Linked DNA regions of Homo sapiens: all the other regions are linked to region 2. Evidence: promoter capture Hi-C in human tissues and cell types (Jung and others, 2019). All regions are on one chromosome and are shown on one strand. The core of a region is centred on a gene start or on the middle of the fragment in contact, and the rest is flanking DNA. Distances in the headings are between cores, read along the strand shown. Region 1 overlaps SLC12A1 (solute carrier family 12 member 1). Region 2 holds the start of SLC24A5 (solute carrier family 24 member 5). Region 3 has its middle 69 kb from the start of SLC24A5. Region 4 overlaps SLC12A1 (solute carrier family 12 member 1).

Region 1 (5,211 bases), core at 2,023-4,522, 88 kb before region 2:
ATAGGTATTTAGCTCTTTACTAACATAGATAATAAAAAGAATTTCTTCAATTACGATCTCAAGTCATTGGGATTATAAATTCTGTCAATATCTATCACAACTAGAGTTTCATTTAAGGTAGAGCCTTAAAATAATGTCTTTCAAACCTGTTTTTTATTTTACCTATTAGTATAATTTTGTCATGTAACTTTTTTCTCACTTGGAAATTATAACCAAAATTTACGCAAAATCCAACTGGTTTTCTGACTAACCATGTTCTGCCATTCGGTATGAATGTGCTATTGCTATTATAACTTTTAAAAGCATTCTAATCATAGTTACAAAAAGTATTGTCTAGCTTGTACTGTGTCAATTACCTTCTACTTTTAAATGATTTAAGTAAACACTATTATTTATATTTTTTGCATACAAAATCTGTGAAGGGTCTGAGTATAATCACATAATGTTTGTTCTGTTGATGATTTCTAGTTGTGATTTGAGGAACTACCATAAAAATGTCAAGGGCCACAAGGAGGTGGCAGCACAGCTACAGCACATTGCAGGTTTTCACTTCTTATATTTGAGGGGGGAAAAGTAAGGAGAGTAGCTGAGTCAAATTCATTAGCAAGCAATAAAAAGATAAATTAAAGAAGGCCCAGACTGCTACACATGGAGAGCCAGGCTAGGCCATACAATTTCAGCAACACTAGAATGGGCCTGGCTGCAGAAATGTGCACATTGTAGATTCTGTGGTTGAATCTGAATTCTACTCCCAATTTGGCTATGTGGATACCTCTTCATGATTTAATCAAGATGAAGGGTCCTAGATAACTGAGCATCAAGTCTGTAAAAGAGTAGCTTATTACTATACACTTTCAAAATGATTATTCAGAGCTTAGGCCTAATTTTTAATATTTTAATTTGCCATTCCTTTGTGTCTAAGAAAAAAAATGCTTTAAGTCGAAGTTCAGTCTTTAGTTTCATTTTATGTCTTCAAAAGTGATACAATATTCCAAACAGCTATTACATTTATCTAATGCAGCTATAACATTCCTACTGTGTGGTCATTTAGATGGCTTTCTGTTTCTTTTTTTTTTTGAGATGGAGTTTCACTCCTGTTGCCCAGACTGGAGTGCAGTGGCACTATCTCAGCTCACCGCAACCTCTGCCTCTCAGGTTCAAGCAATTCTCCTGCCTCAGTCTCCCAGGGCCAGGATTACAAGCATGTGCCACCATGCCTGGCTAATTTTTTTTTTTTTTTTTTTTTTAAGTAGAGAAGAGATTTCACCAGTTGGTCATGGCTGGTCTTGAATTTTTGACCTCAGGTGATCCACCAGCCTCAGCCTCCCAAAGTGCTAGGATTACAGGCATGAGCCACCACACCCAGGCTTTAGATGGCTTTCTAAACACCTGTTCCTTCAGAGCTTTTCTCCCTTTATTGAAAGATTTACATAAGCCATGGCTTTTGCAATTATAAATAAGCTACTTTTCTCTGTCGGGAATGTCAGTCCTAAGAACAATGTGAATTTATCCCATTTCTTTTTTAATGAAGTTAGAATTCTATTTTCTTTTGTTGTAAATTGGGGAAGTAGGTGAATGATAATATTTAAATTGTGACACTAACTTTAAAAAAGGAGGCAGATTTAAAAATTATCATGTGTGACGTGGTAGAGTATTGTGGGATAGAATTTCAGGTCTTTTTAAAAAAGAACTTTGATTCATTTTAATTCTTCAGAAACAATTGAAATATCTTTTTATAATGCCCTAAATTTGTTTCTGCCCTTTCCATGTCTTGGAAACTCCTGGGGGCTGCTTCTGTCAACCTTCTTTTCCTTTCTCTTCTCCTTTTTCTCTCTGCCATTTTCCTTTCCTTTCTTGACACAGAAAAGGACAGTGACACCGCAGCTGGATTTCAACAGTTCAAATTGCCTCCCTTCTCAAAATTCTTCATGGGGGCTACCATGTTGTCTGAAATTGTCGCATTGCTAACTTCTTTTGATTAAAGCATCAAATATGCCAGATAAAATCTAAATCTTAGGTCTATAAGGAAACCAGCCATTTGGCAGACTGTTGCCGATTTAGTACACAGGACTAGCAAGTTTTGGTGGGGAAAGGGGACAAGGAAACAAAATTAAAAACATGGGCTCCTCCTCAGGAAGTCACTTGGTCTCTGGTGGTAGGACCCAGAGTCAGGGACCCTAGCAGCCAAGGCAAATACGATTTGGAGATGGATTTTCTTGTGGAAGGAAAGGTGAGCAGAAACTAAAGAAAGATTTTCCCCTTTATTAGCATCTTTCCTGAGAGTAGTATTCCTAGACTCTCGGGTGTGGATGATCATTTAAAAAAATATTGAAGGAACGAATGGATGAATGCATACAAAAGGAACTGTTTGAATCATTTTCTTCTCCTCAAAACTTGGGCAAGAGTAAACTCATTTGAATATGTGACATCTAATCATTCTTTTTAGCAGGTAATTGTGTTTTATAAAGAATGATATTTATTCCAAACTGGTCTGGAAGAGCAGGAAGATAAAGGTGATCAGTATATTTTGGAGAAAGTTATGGAAGAAGAAATCTACTAAGTTCTAAGATTGGAGGCCGGGCATGGTGGCTCACACCTGTAATCCCAGCACTTTGGGAGGCTGAGGTGGGCAGATCACCTGAGGTTGGGAGTTCAAGACCAGCCTGACCAACATGGAGAAACCCCATCTTTACTAAAAATACAAAAAAATTAGCTGAGTGTGGTGGTGGCACATGCCTGTAATCCCAGCTACTCAGGGGGCTGAGGCAGAAGAATCGCTTGAACCCAGGAGGTGGAGGTTGCGGTGAGCCGAGATCGCACCATTGCACTCCAGCCCGGGCAACAAGAGCGATACTTCGTCTCAAAAAAGATTGGGAAAAGTGCTGCCTCACTTCTAACAGACTTGGGAACCCTGGCTGTATTTCTTAAATAATGAAAAGTTTAGTCACTTCTGCTGCTTCTGTACTTTAATTTAGTTATTTTTATATGCTTAAGCACATTCAGGAGCCTCAGGCAAAGTTTTAAAGAGGAAGGGATAAAATGCTGAATCTTATAAATCTCTGCCCTTTCTTTAAAGAATATAAAAAATACCCCTACACACTAAAGGCTGTCACCCACAGTATTAACTACAGCAAGCACAAGTGTTTTGCTTTTTATACGATTGACATAGAGACATTAATACTGACGTGAAACCAGCTTGGTATTCAGTTTGACGTGTTTAACCAAGTGTGAATTGAGTGGACTATAATCATATACAAGGTACAACATATTGCCTAACATTTAGAGTTAATTCTTTAGTTCTCTATCCTAAGTCAGAAAACATTTGTGGAGCTGGGCACAGTGGCTCATGCCTGCAATCCCATCTCTTTGGGAGGCCAAGGTGGGAGGATCCCTTTAAGTCAGGAGTTCGAGACCAGCTTGAGCAACATAGCAAGACCCTGTCTCTACAAAAAATAAAAAAGTTAGTCAGGTGTGGTGGTGCATGCCTGCAGTCCCAGCTACTCAGGAGGTTGAGGTGGGAGGATTGTTTGAGCCCAGGAGTTCAAAGCTGCAGTGTCCACCACACTTCAGGCTGGGTGACAGAGCAAGACTTTGTCTCAAGAAAAAAAAAAATCCAAAGAAAAAGCATCTGTGAAACACTTTTCTGGGAACTAGGGACAGTTTTGTAAGTAAGATGGATAGTGTTTGGAATAGACCTCTCCATTTGACTGTTTCACATTCATTCATAGTGTAATGAAAGAGAAGGAAATTATCTGAAGTTATGAATAAGGGAGGAGACTTGCTTGTGTCCTTCAAGCTTACCTTTGCGAGTTGCTCGTGAATCTCAAGCAGGCTGGGTCGGTTGACCTTGGGCCCACTGATGCTGCCGGTGTTACGATAGTACTCTATCTTGGGAACGGCATCCATGGTGTTGTGGCCAAAAGTTTGTAGATAGTATGTGTTTGTGTGAGAATCATAAGCGTGAAAACTGGCATCTGTTTTAGCAGTTTCTCCACTTTGGAGGAAATTGTCATAGCACTCCTGATTCCCAGGCCTAAAGCTGATTCTGAGTCTTTTCTGAGCTTCATCCCCAAAAGAGGTTTCTTCATAATGTGGTGGGTCAGTATTGTCATCTGCAGCTGCACTGCTCTCATGGTTCTCATTTATGACACTAACTTGAAAGCGATTGGTATTACTGGGCACTGAATCCAGAAATACATTGGAAGAGTTGTTCAGTGACATCTTCCAAAATTGATTTTTTACTGAGCTATCTACTTTGTGGTTGTTTTAAAAAATCTATATATTTCTTCATCAAAATAAACACTAATGTGCTTCCATTAGGGAGCTCCTGGCTTTTGTTCTAGATGATTCAATAAATAGATTCTTGATATATTGTCTCCGATATAATCTTCAGGATGTTCTTCAAAGCTGTCATTGAAAAAGAAAATTAAACTTGTTCCAAGTAATACAAATATATTTAGGTAAGGGTGGGATATAAGGGAACAGTTTTATTTTACAAGACATACAATTTTAAACTCATTTCACTAAAATTTATCTGTCCAGGAACCTTAGTCATGTGAGTAATTAAATCTGATAATAAATAACTGGAAAACTGTTCCAGCAAACAGAACTTCCAATGCAGTCATTAAAATGTTACCTGTGTTTGTAGTATTTGCTTGAATTCAGTGCACTGGAGTTCACTGTGACTTTAGAAAAGATGTAACTTTACTTATTGAATACAGTAAGAGCTGATGAGAATATTCTCAGCCTAAGACACAGTTCACTGACAGTACTAAATGCTGAAACTGCAAAGTATTTTGATTGTTAGGAATATATACTATACAACATATAAAATGAAAAACAAAACTTCTAAAAAATATATTCTTGCTAGTTTATAAAAATCTGTACATGTTCAACTTATAAATTCCAAATTTTGTTACCTATGCAACAAGTAAAAAATTATGTTTTAGAATATGCATTTAAAAAATACATCCCATCAAGATGATGTCTCTGTGAATTCTTAGATCTTTTACAAGATCCAAATGTTTCATTTGCTCATACATTTGTTTGTTTTGCAAATACTAACATGAAACCTTAAAAAAATATGAATATAGAAATAAGTCATATATCTATAAGAAATAAGTCATATACCTTAAAAAAGTCCTCTGCTATGTTTAGGTAAAATAATCATGCTCTACTGACTCATTTTAATGAAATGTCTTCAATAATTGA
Region 2 (5,249 bases), core at 2,161-4,660:
AAAAAGGTTATTAGAACAGAGTTGGGAGCATAGAGACAGATCTACATCTATATAAGAACTTAGTATATGAAAATTGATCAACTGTTGGAAAAAAGAACATTACATCCTATAGCAAGACAGATTCTTAGTGGAAAAAATAAATAAATTTTAAAAAATCCTGCATGTAGAATAAAATATGATGATTGTTGTGACCTATGGATAAAAATGCCTTTCTAGTTATAAAACCAAAAGGAGAACCATAAAGAAAAAGATTTACAAATTTACTTAAAATATTTAAACTTCAAACTTCAATGTGATAAACACAAAATGCAAAATCAAACAAACCATGAAAAAGCATATGATATGAAGTAATACTAGAAAAAGGGTTAATATCCTTATATATTTTTAAAGTCTTGAAAATCAATAAGAAAGAGACAGAATACCCCTGATATAATATGGGCAAAAAAACACAAAAGGAAAACCATAAAATAAAATAAACATATAAAATATTCACCCTCATGGATAATAAGATAAACACAAATTTTATAAAATAATGGGAGGTTAAAGCAACCAAGGATATTTCACATATTTTTCATGGTTTTCTGGAATGGATGCTTAAGGAGGTATAAGTAGGCACACCTTTTGTGGGATGCCTTTTGCAAATATATATCATAAGACTTAAAATATCCACATCTCTGCCTCTTAATCAGGAAATGATCAGAGAGGTGTGCAAAGATTTTATACAATTATGGGCATGACATTAACACAAAAAACTTAAAACAGGCCAAATGTCCAATGAGAGTAATAGTTTTAAATTTTATGATAAATTTCTACTGGGTGCCTACTATGTGTAAAAACCAGTGTCAGACGCTCAAATCATTTATAGAATCATGGACTATCATGATATCATTAAAAATAATGTTTTTGAAGAATGTTTAATAATATTGGAAAATGTGCACTATAAAATATTGTGTGAAAAAAAGGAAAGATCCCAAACTGTATATAAAGCAAGATTCAAAAGATTTAAAGGAAATATACCAAATGGTAACTGTGTAGATGGAAATACAGGTGATTTTATCTTTCTCTTCTATTTTTCTTGTATTTCATTAATCTAAGTAAAACTGTTAAATAATTTAATCTTTATTAAAGAAAATATCAATTATATATAAGATGTAACGTCAAGATAAAAGCATATGTTTGTATCTACTTAAGAAAAATTGTAATAAATTAGGCTAATCTATCATATATATATATATTATATATTTTCATTAAACAGATAGGTGTTGAGTGCCTCTGCTATCACCAGTTACTGTTTTAGAGCCTACAGATTCTGGTATACTGCAGTGAACAAGGGAGGAAATAATTCGCTTTGCATTTCAGCAGGGGTTGGGGGTGGGGTGATGGGAAAAGGGAGAGTTTACATTCATGCTCTTTCCCTTTATAAAGAAATGGCAGCAATGTGTGTGTGTCGGGGGCGGTGGGTGGAGGTTGAGGACGCTGCTGTTACTGTGCAGTCTTGTGAATATGCAATAGGAAACCCAATCCTTAATTTTGACATTGCTTTTTGCTGTAATGTGGGCATGCTCAGCCAAATAAATAACCAAACATGAGACCAAGTCTAGAAACACACTTTTGCTCATATGGCACAGAACATAACTGCTATCCTGGTGTTTAGGGACCAGTGCACCAGTGAAGGTCTATGCTCAGAATTCTGGGCAACATATACTGCTGAAGGAACAGAGCTCAGAGGCTTGGACCGGCTGATCTTATTTTCAGAAACCAATAAATGGAGCTCTTAATTTTTAATAACTGATTTTACAGTCATCTGATGTCTAAGGTCACTTAGGATACAGGACTTATTCATCTATCTGTTTATTGGTTCTTAAATATCAATTAATTTCCTTAATGGTAGGATGCTGGGAAAGGAAGATGGGGAGGGTGGTCCTTAATTGCATTTGTTTATCACTTTTTATAATCAAAGTTATAGCGAGCTTAGAGTAAAAATAAAAAAAAGTTTTTTGAAGCATAAAATGGCAAATATTAGGAGTTTCATTGTATTAGGAGCGCACACAAAGTACATACAAGTGAAATCTTGGAACAGTTCTTATAACAAACATCCAGGCAGTAGACAAACTAGAGATTTCTGGAAATAGGCAGAAAAATAATAACTGCCGGGTTCTAACTTGAAGAAACTCTGATTCACATTAACTACCAAGAGAAACCACACTCGACCAGTTCCTTAAGACACGGGACCCCACAACAAGAAGCTGGTGCTCTGCAACCAGTTGAGAAGTACAGGACAGCTGCTGAGCTATTTCAAAGACAGTCATATCTGTGTGGCACACTCTCCCAGAAGGTTACAGGGCAACTTTCCAGCCACTTACATTCACTGATGATTTCCAGGGAGGGTAGGAAGTATTCATCACAGACAATAGATATGGCCATGAACATGTAAACGATAATTAGGAAATAGATTATGATGCCTCCATCTCTGCGCTCCTGTCTCGTGAAAAACCCTTCGGGAAACTCCGATGATGGAGAAATAACACATTGGGTGCTATTTCCTGTTAAGGAAAAGGAGGTGAAAGTTTGAAGAGTTTGGAGTCACACATTCCAAGCCCACAGAGAGCTTCCTTAAGAAATCTGTAAGTGTGGGGTAACCGGGTGGAATTTTAAGGACCCACTGAAAATGTATAAAGCGCTTCTGAATATAACACAGTTGTAGAGTTTTCAAAAAATTTTTTTGGGGGACTGAAAAGAGATATCTTAATGAAATATGTTGATGATGGTGAAGAATTAAAAAGAGGAAATCATGAAATCACTCCTCCTTGTTTTTATTTCTGAATCTCTCTTCCCCAAGTAGAAACTGTATCTCTGATACATGAAGATTTCTATTGTTTATACAATTTCGTTTTCTCATTGCAGAGCCTAAATTGTTCACAGGCCTGCAAAGAATCCATCCACTGTTGCAGAGAGAATTTCTAAGATGAAAGATTTTTTGTTTTCACCAAAAAGTCTCCAAGAACAAAAACTGGAGACTTGGCCTACTATGATCTCTGTGAATTACTTTGGAGTATATTTAAGAACTTATTTGAAGGATCAAAAGTGTTTGATATCTTTTTAAATGCTAAAATTCAGAAGCGTAAGTAAAAGTGAGCCCATTGAGAATTTTCCTCTTTTTGTCCCTTCATCTGTATGTGGTAGCAGCAGCAGCAGCTGCTGCTGCAGAGCTAACTGACCCCAATGTCCACCTACCTGTGGCCCTTGGGAGACGTTGGGGCAGGGAGGTCCCTGAGAGAGGCAGATGTGCAGTGGCCCACAGGATGCCGAGCAACAGAGCCCTTCTCGCCCATGTTTGGCCCCCTTTTGTCTGCATTTCTGCTGTGCTCTTACTGCAGCGTGCAGCTTCAGGAAGGGAGAAGAGGAGGATTAAACTGGATCATGTGAGGAGTCTCCTTCCTGCCCAATACCCTGCCCAGGGCACATCTCAGCAAGGCCAGCACAGGAGAAAGGGCGAGTGTAGCCAGTCAAGCTTCTCTGATCAGGAGACCCAATCTCCAGGGAGGCCGGAGGAGACGGAGGAGAGCTGACAACCATTGTCTATAGCTATTTCCATGGCCTACAGTCTCTAAGGGCAGATTAAGGCAGCTTGTACTTTATGAAAATGTGTGGTTTTATTTAATGTCTTCATACTGGCTCTGCTTTTGACTTTCTCTAGATTTGTAAAAAGTTGGGTTTGCAACTGCTTCCCATCTCTCTCCAGCCCTTTCCCCTAGAAGTTGTTTGGGTTGATATTAATATATGTACATGCTTTGGCTAGCTCGGCATCCTTTCATATTTCTGTTTTAGCCTCTCATCTTCATCTTCAGTTAGGGCCAAAGGGAGAAAGGCCAGTTAGGGCATCATTGCAATCGTCTAGCTGAGAAATGATAGTGGCTTGAACCAAGGCTGTGGCAACGGGGATGGAGAGTAGCTGACAGTTTCAAGAATTATTGAGATGGAGTGGATGCTATTTGATCATTGATAGGCTGTGCTTTCTGCCAGAGGGAGCTATCTAAAATGCAAATTTGACGTACAAGGTAGTGTTTAAATATAGACTACTATCTTCCCTATGCTAACATTTATGAGGCTTGCCAAGATATTTAGAACTTTTGGCAGTGTAGTAACCTATAGCTAATAGCACAGGCTATGGAACCAGACCACATGATTTGAGCCCTAGCACTGCTACTTACTAGTTATGTGACTTTTGGCATGTTATTTAACCTTTCTGCTACACAGTTCTGCTATCTGTAAAACAGGGATCACCTGTATTTGGGTTGTGGTAAGAATTACAAAAATGAACGCAAATAATTTGCTCAGAACGACCTCTGGCTGACGTCTTCATTCCTTCCTTTCTTTTTCTTTGTTTTGTTTGTTTTCCTTCCTTCCTCCCTTCCTTCCTTCCTTCCTTCCTTCCTTTCTTCTCCTCCTCCTCTTTCTCTCCTTCCTTCCTTCCCTCCTTCCTTCCTTTCCTTCGTTCCTTCTTTCTTTCTTCCTTTCTTTTCTTTTCTTTTTCTTTCTTTCTTTCTTTCTTTCTTTCTTTCTTTCTTTCTTTTTCTTTCTCTTTCTTTCTTTCAATTGAAATAGAAGCGTTTTTGTTCATAAAAATTTTTGTAGTTTTGCAACTTTCATGGTTCCTTTGCTTTGCAGAAAAAACACAAAAATTGATATGCCTAGTAAGTTTTCTATTTAGAAACTAGCTTTATCTGATGGAACGGAGTAAGTTGCTTCCTGATGTTTGTGATCTTGGGTCGGAAGAAAGTCTCAAAAACTACTTTTTTTTGTGGGAATTGGTATCCATTATAAACCTCTCCAAAACTGTCATTTCTAGGAACTAGATATTCAGATGTATGGTGTGATTGTGAGGCTGTGATGATGAGTCACCAAAGCATAGCCCAGTATAGAGCAGATTCTCAACAAGCAGAGTTCCAGCTGTCTACACTCGCAGGAAGCAGCACCCTGATCACTGGGGAGTGGCCTACATGCCAGCTAGCTAAGACTAAGGGAAGAGGTCGTTTAGTTTTATGCTGAGTGGAAGTGTCTTGCGAGCCTCTCCTCTTCAACACACAGTACTTCAATCAATTCATAAAACATCATAAACAAATAAAATACCAATAATATAAAAAGCTCAAACCCAAAGTGAAAGCTTCCAATGCACATTGTCAGCTAATTCAAGAGAGAGAGCAAGTGTCTGAAGGTACGAGCCAATTGCTATGGAACAGCAGAAGTGC
Region 3 (5,051 bases), core at 2,077-4,576, 69 kb after region 2:
TGATGGGGATAGCAATGAATCTATAAATTACTTTGGGCAGTATGGCCATTTTCACGATATTGATTCTTCCTAACCATGAGCATGGAATGTTTTTCCATTTGTTTGTGTCCTCTCTTATTTCCTTGAGCAGTGGTTTGTAGTTCTCCTTGAAGACGTCTTTCACATCCCTTGTAAGTTGTATTCCTAGGTATTTTATTCTCTTTGTAGCAATTGTGAATGAGTTCACTCATGATTTGGCTCTCTGTTTGTCTGTTATTGGTGTATAGGAATGCTTGTGATTTTTGCACATTGATTTTGTATCCTGAGACTACAGACAGAGTCTCACTATGTTGCCCAAGCTGGTCTCAAACTCCTAGACTCAAGAGATCCTCCTGCCTTTGCCTCCCAAAGTGCTTGAATTACAGGCGTGAGCTGCTGAGCCCATTCTGTTGTTTGTACTCTTAACTGTTGAGTTTTGAGGGTCCTGTATACATCCTGGATACAAGTCCTTTGTAGCTTATGTATTTAAAAACACTTTCTCCTGTCTGTAGCTTGTCTTCTTCATTATCTTAGTGTCTTTTGCAGAACAAATTTCTAAAAATTTGATGAAGTCTAATTTATCTATTTTTGTAATGAATCATGCCTCATGCCTTTTGGAGTCATTTCCATGAACTTTTTGCCTACAGATTTTCTCCTATGTCTTTTTTTCTATATGCCTCATGGTTTTACATTTATATCTGTATCAATTTTGAGTAATTTTTGTGTATGGTGTGAGGGATAGGTCAAAGGTTTTTTTGCATATGAATGTCCAATTGTTTCAGTACCAATTGTTGGAAAGACCAACCTTTAACCATTCAATTACCTTTGCACCTGTCTCAAAAATCAGTTAGCCACATTTCTGAATTCTCTACCTGTTCAGTTTATTTGTATGTTTATTTCTCCATCATTGCAAATTGTCCTGATGACTGTAGATTTAAGTAAATCTTATAATTGGGTAGGATGATTTATCCAGATCTTCCTTTTTCTTCAAAATTATTTTGAAGAAATAGCTCCTTTGTCTTTCCATATTCCAGTTCCTTTGCCTTTCCATATAAATTTTAGAATCAGTTTGTCTGTAACAAAAATCTTACTGGGATTTTATTGCAATTGCATTAAATCAGTAGGACAACTTGAATCTTCTAATTTATATACATGAAATAGCTCCCCATTCTTTTTAAATTTATTTCATTAGCATTTTATAGATTTTAACTTACATAGCCTGCGTGTTTTATGATATTTATACCTAAGCATTTTGTTTTAAAAGAAATTATTGCAAATGGTATTGTTAAATTTCAGTTTTCAATGATTGTTCATTGCCTATATAGAGAAATAAAACAAATTTTGCATGTGACCTTGTATACTGAGACTTTACTTTATTCATTTATTAGTTACAGGAGGTTTTTGTTTTTAAAAAATCACTACTATGGGACTTTCTGTATAGCAATCATGTTATCTGTGAATAGAAACAGTTTGTTTCTTTTTTTTCCATCTGCATTCCTTTTGTTTTTTTCTTGTCTTATTGTACTGGCTAGAACTTCCAGCACAATGTTGGATGGGGTGGTGAGAATGGCCATCCTTGGCTTGTTCCCAGTCTCCTGGGGTGTGATGATTAATTTTATGTGTCCACTTGATTGAGTCATGGGATGCCCGGAGAGCTGATTAAACATAATTTCTGGGTGTGTCTGTGTGGGTGTTTCTGTAAGAGATTAGCATTTGAATTGGTGGACTGAGTATAACAGGTGGCCTTCCAGAGTATGTGTGGGCTTCATCCGATCTATTGAGGACCTAAAGAACAAAAAAGCAGAGGAAAATTGGATTTTCTCACCCTCTGCCTGACTTAAGCAGCTTGAGCTGGGACATTGATCTTCTGCCCTCTGTGCTCCTGGTTCTCAGGCCTTCATAAGTCTACTGGAATCTGCACAGTTAATCCTTTACCCCTCAGGTTTCTGACTACACCACTGGCTTTCCTGGATCTCCAGCATGGATTTATAAACATTCCATTGTTTTTTTATTTCTCCAGAGAACCCTGACTAACACAGGGAAAAGCATCAAATCTTTCTCAGTTCATTATTTCTCCAAAATTCAATATATGTTGATGATAAAATCTCTCAGCAAACTAGGAATAAAATTGAACTCCCTTAACCTAACATACCTTTCATTAGGTTAAAGAAGTTCAATTTTATTCCTAGTTTGCTGAGAGATTTTATCATCAATGTACACTGAATTTTTTCCAAAGTTTTTCTGCATCAAATTAATGTGATTATGAGGTTTTACTTCTTTGTCTGTTAATATGGTGAATTACATTGACTAACTTTCAAATACTGAACCAGCCTTATATTCCTAGAATAAATTCAATGTGGTCATTATTATTACATCTTCATGTATGGCTGGGTTTATATTTAATTAGTTTTGTTGAGAATTTTTACATCTATATTTTTGAGGGAGATTGGTCTATAATTTTCTTTTACTATCTTCAGTATTTGGTATCTTTGGCTTTGGTTTTGGCTGGAGCCATAAAATGAATTGGAAATAGTTTTCTCCTTTTCAATTAGAGATTGTGAAGAATTTGCATTATTTCTTCTCTAAATGTTTGGTAGAGTTCCTCAATAAAATTATCTGGACCTGGAGATTTCCTTTTCTGAGGATTTTAAACATTAATTTCATTTTAAAAATAGTTATGGAGTGTTTGGGGTTATCTTCATCATATTTGGTACATTTTTGTAGTTGGTGTCTTTTTAGGAATTGGTCCATTTAACGTAAGTTGTCAAATTTGTGTGCTTAGAGTTGTTTGTAGTACTTTCTTATTATTCTTTTGATAGCTTTGTGAATATGATGAATACAATCATTCATTCTTGTATTGGTAATTAGTACCCTCTTGCTTTTTTCTTTGTCTGTCTGGAGATTTATCAGTTTTATTTGTTTAGCTTCATTGATTTTCCTTTCTATTTTCTCTTTTCAATTTTATTTTTTTCTCATATATTTATTATTTTCTTCTTTCTGCCTGCTTTGCATTTATTTTGCTTTTCTATTTTTACTTTTTGAAAGCAGAAGTTTAGATCTTTCATTTGAAATTTTTTTCTTTTCTAACATAAGCATTTAATGCTATGAATGTCTCTCTAAGCACTGCATTAACTATCTCCCACACATTTTTATATGTTGTATTTTAATTTTTGTTCAGTTCAAAATATTATCTAATTTTTCATTAGACTTCTTATTTGACCCATGGATTAATTAGGAGTATGCTTTTTAATATCCAAGTATTTGGAGTTCATGGGTCTGTGGAGACACAGGGTAGCCATATTTGTCAGTGAACTGCACTGACCGCTGTACCTGGGGGTGGCCTTATGTGCCTGCCACTGTGCTTCCCACATTGCCTAGATGCCCACATGACTAGGAAGCACTATGTTCCCAGTTTTTGTGAGTGTGGCGGGCCCCTTGGTAGCTCCACCCCTTAGCTTTGACTATCCCTTGAGTAGGTGTCATTACTGTAGAAATGCACAGGGCACACAGCTTAGGCCCTGAATTACACCCAAGTCACCCTCCTCCTGTTAACCAATTAGGCTGATCAAACTAGAAAGGTGGTGCTGCAAAACCGGATGGACTTAGATATAGTAACGGCTGCCCAAGGTGGCACCTGAGCCCTTATAGGGACACAGTGTTGTACATTTATTCCTGACAATCAACAAAACATAACAGCAGCCTTGCAAGGGATGTCACAGGAGATTAAAGCAGTTGAGAACCTTACTGATGGACCCACTACAGAGATGGTGGGCATCCCTGGGCTGTGGTCTACATTGGGCCCTGATAATCACGGGCAGCATAGCAGGAATATTAGTAGTAGGTTGCTGTTCCCTGTATTGTTGCTGTGGGCACATTTCCCCACTAAGAAGACCCCCTCGGCCTAGCGGGTGGAATGTAAAGAAGATGGCTGCATGGCAGTCAAGAGCAGGCCAAGGTAGACATCCAGTGCAACATGACACAGCAGGATTGGAGTGCAGGTGCACAGTCCTGTGCATTATATAATCAGTTATGTAATCATGTCATGGGTGGGCTCATCACCTGGTTCTGAGCCACTATTGTCTGTGAAGTGCATAAATGTATCACTGACACTGTGAGAGGAGGTGCATAAAAAAGCCATGTCCCACTTGCCTATGGCCTCCCGAGTGTTCTTTCAACTACCCGCCACCAATCCACATTCTCCCCTCAGACCCTAGCTTGGGTTGGAACCTCACACAAACACTGCCATATTTAAGCAGTCAAAAACGCTATGGTTATCACCGGTTCCACCAAGCTAATAGAGGAGATAATTGGGGCTTGAAAATGACATGTTTATTGCTTAAGGTCATACAATGACAAAATAATAGAATCAAAATTCAAAGCTTAGTCTGACTCTAAAGTTCATGTCTTAACCACTGGATTATTTAGGTTACTTTGCTTCCAAGCAATGAGTTGGCAACATTTTGCAGGACATATGGCGTCTCTGACAACTATTCCACTCTACCTGTAACACAAAAGCAGCTGTAGATAACATGTAAATGAATGAGTGTAACTGTGTTCCAATAAAACTTTATTTAAAAAACAGGTGGTGAAATGGATTGGGTCTTTGGGCTGCCATCTGCCAATTCCTGCTTTAAATTATGAGTATATTCTTCAGTTCCTGTTTTCTGTAGACTATATTTCTCTGGTTTTTGTTTTATGAGTTCACTCCAGGTCCTCATAGCTAGTGATGAAGCTTAATTCACATTTCAAGTAGTCACAGATTTCTTGAATCAATCCTACTTCTCTACTTAGATATGTTTCTGTGATAAGATAACTCTTAAACATATTCTTCTTGCTTTAGCAAGACCTCAGATAAAAACATGATTCAGAGCCAGAAGAACAGGAAGGGTGGTTTGTAAGGCTCTGTCCAGTAGAACAGAGAGGGAGAAATGTGGATGATGTAAAGTCAGGCTTCCTCAAGCAGCCTGGTTGCTGAATCTTGGATTCAGATTATCTAGTCCAAGTATACACATGAGTCTAGTCTATCACATCTC
Region 4 (5,336 bases), core at 28-2,527, 100 kb before region 2:
AAGAAACCAACTTGCATTACCTTTGAAAACACTCCAGAAAGGTCAGTGGTGAACTGTTAGAGCCTGTGTTGCCTTTACCTTACAAATGATGGTGCGGGTCACAAGTTTAATTACCTCCTCTGACACATCCATTTGTGGCAATAGCAGAGGTGGATAAACCAGTGATACCAGTCACTGTCACGGCTAAGCCGATGATAATCACACCAAGACCTCAGTTGAAAGAGGAAAAATAAAGGTATTAAATGGTGGAAGAATTCATTGGATCATTTACATAAAAACCAGCAAGTCTAGGGTAAACATCAAAGGACCACATTTGAGTTTAACAAGTTGGCTAGGAAATCACCATGGAGTAAATGCTTAGCTTTGAAGTTTTCTGCTTGTAGTAGCTCTGGTTCCAAGAAACTTAAGAGCTAAAATGTGCAGAACTAAGTTGTACAAAACAAAGCCACTAGGGCTGGTCAAAATTTAATGTGCACCCCATCTTATTATTATTATTATTTTTAGAGACAGTCTTGCTATTTTTTCCAGGCTGGTCTCAAACTCCTGGCCTCAAGTCATCCTCCTACCTCAGCCTCCCAAGTAGCTGGGACTACAGGCTTGCACTATTGCACCTGACAGAATTCCATCTTTGGAGAAGTTATAGACACCTATAAACATGATAATTGGCCTACAATTCCAAGCTGTCAAGATAACTAGAGATTAAATGTTCATCCTTCCAGGTTACTATCTTTTTATGTACATTTGGTCACATAGAGGTGGAGAACTACATACAGTATAGCAAATTATTCATCTGGCAGATGGGTAAAGTGGAAAGAATGAAATTAAATTACATTAACTTGTTGACCGTGTGAATTCTGGAAAGTTGCTTATTATGATAAGTCACCTCAAATAAATAAATAACTGAGCCAAAAATAGCAATGAAATTAGAAAGAATGCATGTGTAAAATGGCTAGCATAGCACATGGAACACAGTACACACTCAATGATATTGCTTTTTGATCATATTCACAGTAGTTATAATACTTACTGCTTTTTAAAAACCTACTATATATCCAGCTATGTGGCAGGTAATGTAAGAAACACAAGACACAAATAAAATGAAATTTAAAAAGCTGCCCCAAGGATTTTATGGTTCAGAAGGTTGATGATTATAAAGAGAGGGAGAAAGTGGTAGAGGCCAGAATTCAACGAAGCCGTGACTGCTTTCAGCTTCAAGAAACACATAGCCAGGAGTCTACAAAAGGGTATCAGAATATATCACTCTGGCATAAGGATTATTTGGAGCTGAGACAACCGAAAAAAAGTAGATACAAGAAAAGCTCTCGATCCCTTCCTATTTACCTAAAAACGGGACATAAATTTGTCCTCCCTCCCCTCTCTACCAGAAAGTGATGTCTCTGATTACCAGAGACAATTTTGGATGCTTATCAGCCTGACAAAGGCACCACAGGCATCTACACAACAAGCTTTGCTGACAAGCTCTTATCTTCCATTCCTTTCCTTATATATTTACCTTGGCAGCATTTGCCACCCTATGAATGAAAAGTCCTTTTCCTTTGTCTTATCACCTCTCTACGATTTAATTGTTCTGTTGTTAAGATGATATATAAGCCCATGTTCTAAGCAACCCTTTAAGTCACTCATCACTGAGTGGTCCCATGTGTATGTACCATGTACATGTTAATAAATTCTGTTTTTCTCTTATTGATCTGACTTTTGTCAATCTAATTTATAGGCCCCCAGCCAATGAACCTAAGATGGGTAGAAGATAACTGTTTTTCCTCTCCTACAATACCCTCTCTAATGGAGGCCGACCCAGAATTCAGGGAGAGGGCTGTGGAGTCACAGCCACTGAACTCACCCTGGCTCCATCCAGAATGCTCTGGTCTGGGCTGTTTGGTAAGCTCCCCTATGTAAAGTGAATGCTCCATAGTTGTTGGCAGGCTCTCTCGTTCCAAGTATGGTTAGAAGGGTAGTCAGCCACGAGAGGCTGTGATCTCTCTGGCCATGCTCAAGGAGAAGGGAAAGTGGAAGGAGGTTAAGGGCAGCAGTGGGAATGAGTCAAGGTATTAAAGGCTGGTTCTTTTGAAGCTCTTGGCCATACCCTGTCTCTAACAGCAGCCTCTAGGCTTTTTTGCAGGTTAAGGTGGAGTGGGAAGAAGCTAACTAAGCACAGGCTGCAAACTTGGACCATATTGCTTTAGACCCTGTAGACTCTTAAAAGCTTGGGGTTGTAAAAAATAGTTGGACCAAATTCTTCATATCTATTGCAGGGATACTGTGGTGAGCAGTGCCTCTGTATCACTATGTGGCTTCAGGTCCTTGTGCCACTAAAGGTGATTTATTCTGCACTTGTTTTGCTCCTGACTTTGTTTTGAAGAAGCTTGATAGAAAATGTTTAGCATACCCCAGAAACTCTACAGGACCATATAATTTGCATTTCATAACACTAAACCTACTCCAACCTTATTATTTCCTCACTGTTATTTTCCTTTTGACTCTAGTTTTTTCAACAATTCTTAATTCATCCTTTTGCATTGTATATATTTCTCCAAACCATTTGAAATCTTGGAACAAAGTTTTATACTTTTGAACAGCAAGGGATTTGCTTCTCTCTCATAATCAAACATAAAATCCCAGGGTAGAAGGCAGCTTGGAGAACATTCAGTTCATTGTTTTCTGAAATTGTGGTTCTTGAACCACCTGCTTCAGGAAATGCCTGGGGTGCTTATTAAAAATGCTCAGACCTACTGAATTTGGATCTTTAAAAGTAAATCCCAGGATTCTGCAGTTTCCTAACCTAACTTCCCAGATAATTCTTATGCATCCCTCAGTAAGACAACTAAGCTACCCTCAGCCTATTTCAACTTGTGTCTGCCTGTTCAGAAAGGTACTTTAGCTTTATCTTCAAAGAATTCATTGGGTAGGAATTAACCTGCTCCTTAATATTTAGAAAAGAAAGGGAAACACCGAATGTAAGTGACTTGCTTCAGGTCATACCGGCTTTCACACCTAACTTCCTTGCTTGATGGTTAAATTTATTGGAAACCATCTTGCCCCAGCAAGGTCTCCAAGATAGAGAAGAACAACTAGACAGCATTAGCAGCTCATTCAGCCCTTTGCTTTTGGGAACAAGACAGCCAAAACTCGTAGCCCAGAATGGTTACCCAAGGGCTGTAGCTACTGTTACTCCTGGCTCCAGATTCCTTCTGGCTCTATTCCCAGGGTCTGGGCTTGAAAATGTATTCAGATTTCTTCCTCAATCTACCCCCAAAGCAAGAACAAATAGATGTGTTTGTTTCTTTTCTTCCCCAATAAGGAAAACCCAAATGGGACCCAGATGGTGACTTAACTCATTAAGTTTTAGGTTCATAGCAAAGGCCAGTAAAACTGAGTAAGGTTGACAATAAGTTTCTAGTACTCACTAAAGTCTGTCTTCCGAGAATTAAAAAAAGAAAAGAAACGAAAAGAAAAACACAAACCTCCATTCAAAGGAAAATCCATTGAACACTTACTAGGTAGAATTTTACTCTCTTCTAATATATAATTTAACTACTTCAATATAAAGATCTTTATTAAAATAATATTAATTTTATTTTAATATTTTAATATGATAGCATAATAAACTGTTTAGCAGAAGATAGGATTCTTCATTCTCTACAGTTTTGCAAGAAACTCAATACTGGGTTGACTGTGAAGAGTAATGTAAGATCTGATTAAAGTTCAGATTATTGCCCAAACGTATGGATGTTAAATAAGTTGCGTTAAAAAGAATTACTCTTGCCCTTGGCTACTCTCACACCTCCAAACAAAGTAATGTTTCTTGATGATCTCAATAAGTTACTAAAACTACCCTTAAAAACCTAATTTTGCATGAAACCCTGGAGCAAAACCTTGGCAATATTAAGATGCAGATTTTCCATGGAACGGCATATACTTATTTTGGACCCTGCGGCTGTGAGCATTCATTTGTTATGCATCATAAAACCGGCAAGCAGCCCTCTGTCAGGAACCCAGCAGTTGCCAAACATGAAACATGGAAAAACTATGGGAACTGGCTCCATTTTTTCAATTTACAGCTTAGCCCTTTCTTTTTTGAGTTAGTCTTCCGGTGATGCTGAATGTGTTTTGAAGAGCAAAGCCAATAAATAATGACCAACTACCTTTTAAAATGTGAATTGAGATACCTTCTGGAGTGCTATCTGAAAGCACAATAGAACTTCCATATTCCTGAGACTAAGTCTTCTCCGGAAAGTGAATTCATAATGTATTTCCCATATATGGAATAGAACATTATTAATTTTTATCTCATTAAATGGGGAACTTTAATACAATTCAATTAGATTTTTCATAAAAACTTTACTAATATACTTTCAACAAAAAAGATTTGCTAGAAGAAATAATATTTAAAATAGAATGTAATATTTAAAACATTAAACAACCACTCAAAATAATGTCATTATTATCCATTTTTCATTTAGAAAAAAATAACAGTAATGCACATATTATCTTAGTCATTTCATCTTTCACTTAAAGCTTGTATCTGGCAATATTTGATTAACCTTTGTTTTCTTACTGCTGGTACCCGAAAGTAACACAATTATTTTCTTTGGAAAAAGTTCAACAATTCAGCATTTTTATTAGTCAGGTCACATTTTCACCAGTTTTCTCACAAGTTATTTTTGTTCAGTGAAGTTTTACCAATCATGCCAAGAAGGATACTCTGTAACAAATGAGAGGCAAATGTCAATATGTCCCCCAATACAAATATTATTATCTAAAATTAACATGCTATTATATGTCTGTGTACCTAAAACTCTATCAAAAGAGAGAGATCTCCTTGAGCATTCACCTGTTTGGCAAGCTGGAAAATTCCAGTTTCATAGGAGTTAACTCTTCACCTTTGCTTTCTGACAAACATCGTCAAAGAAGCAAAGTAAAAGGAGCCCAACTGTAAATTATTTCTGTGACCTTCATCTCACATTCAGTATTAATGGTGAAAAAAGATTGCTTATTGAATTTATGATTTACATGCAAAATTATTTAGGAGGGGAAAAATGCTTACCAATTCCAGCTTCTCCAACAATCCAGGAGAGGCGAATGAAGAGCATGACTCCCCAGATGTTCAGCATGCATCTTACCTGTGGATAGAAGCGGTATTGAAAGGAGACAGGACAAACGATAGTGGGACAAAACCCGGGGCTCTTCATAAAGCTGTGCCCAGGCCTTGTTCACTCTTAATCCACTAGAACATTGAATGGATAGTTTTCATTTGTAAACAGAAGAGCTTTCTCACCAGCACACCTTTCACCCATCCAAACTTCACAACACCAGCT

The links. The method cuts DNA at HindIII sites, captures the fragments that hold promoters and counts their contacts. A contact is called where the count stands out against the background at its distance.
Region 1: a fragment that was not itself captured here is called in contact with the fragment with the promoter of SLC24A5 in region 2 in 2 of the 25 tissues and cell types used here (mesenchymal stem cells and thymus).
Region 3: a contact is called between a fragment that was not itself captured here and the fragment with the promoter of SLC24A5 in region 2, in 2 of the 25 tissues and cell types used here (pancreas and small bowel).
Region 4: a contact is called between a fragment that was not itself captured here and the fragment with the promoter of SLC24A5 in region 2, in 2 of the 25 tissues and cell types used here (heart right ventricle and mesendoderm cells).

What each region holds. Positions count from the first base shown.
Region 1 is chr15:48,206,730-48,211,940 of GRCh38, reverse strand. SLC12A1 (solute carrier family 12 member 1) reads right to left here. Exons shown (of 27, transcript NM_000338.3): 2 at 3,802-4,407. The coding sequence starts at 4,221. Among named protein-coding and RNA genes, the nearest start is that of SLC12A1, 3.0 kb to the right of the region's middle. The HindIII fragment of the contact is 5,507 bases long and covers 519-5,211 here.
Region 2 is chr15:48,119,151-48,124,399 of GRCh38, reverse strand. SLC24A5 (solute carrier family 24 member 5) reads right to left here and starts at 3,410. Exons shown (of 9, transcript NM_205850.3): 1 at 3,235-3,410; 2 at 2,364-2,543. The coding sequence starts at 3,355. The HindIII fragment of the contact is 7,987 bases long and covers 1-4,338 here.
Region 3 is chr15:48,049,782-48,054,832 of GRCh38, reverse strand. No RefSeq gene overlaps it. Among named protein-coding and RNA genes, the nearest start is that of SLC24A5, 69 kb to the left of the region's middle. The HindIII fragment of the contact is 4,664 bases long and covers 995-5,051 here.
Region 4 is chr15:48,220,726-48,226,061 of GRCh38, reverse strand. It overlaps SLC12A1 (solute carrier family 12 member 1), which reads right to left. Exons shown (of 27, transcript NM_000338.3): 3 at 5,297-5,336; 4 at 5,066-5,141. Among named protein-coding and RNA genes, the nearest start is that of SLC12A1, 17 kb to the right of the region's middle. The HindIII fragment of the contact is 4,366 bases long and covers 1-3,460 here.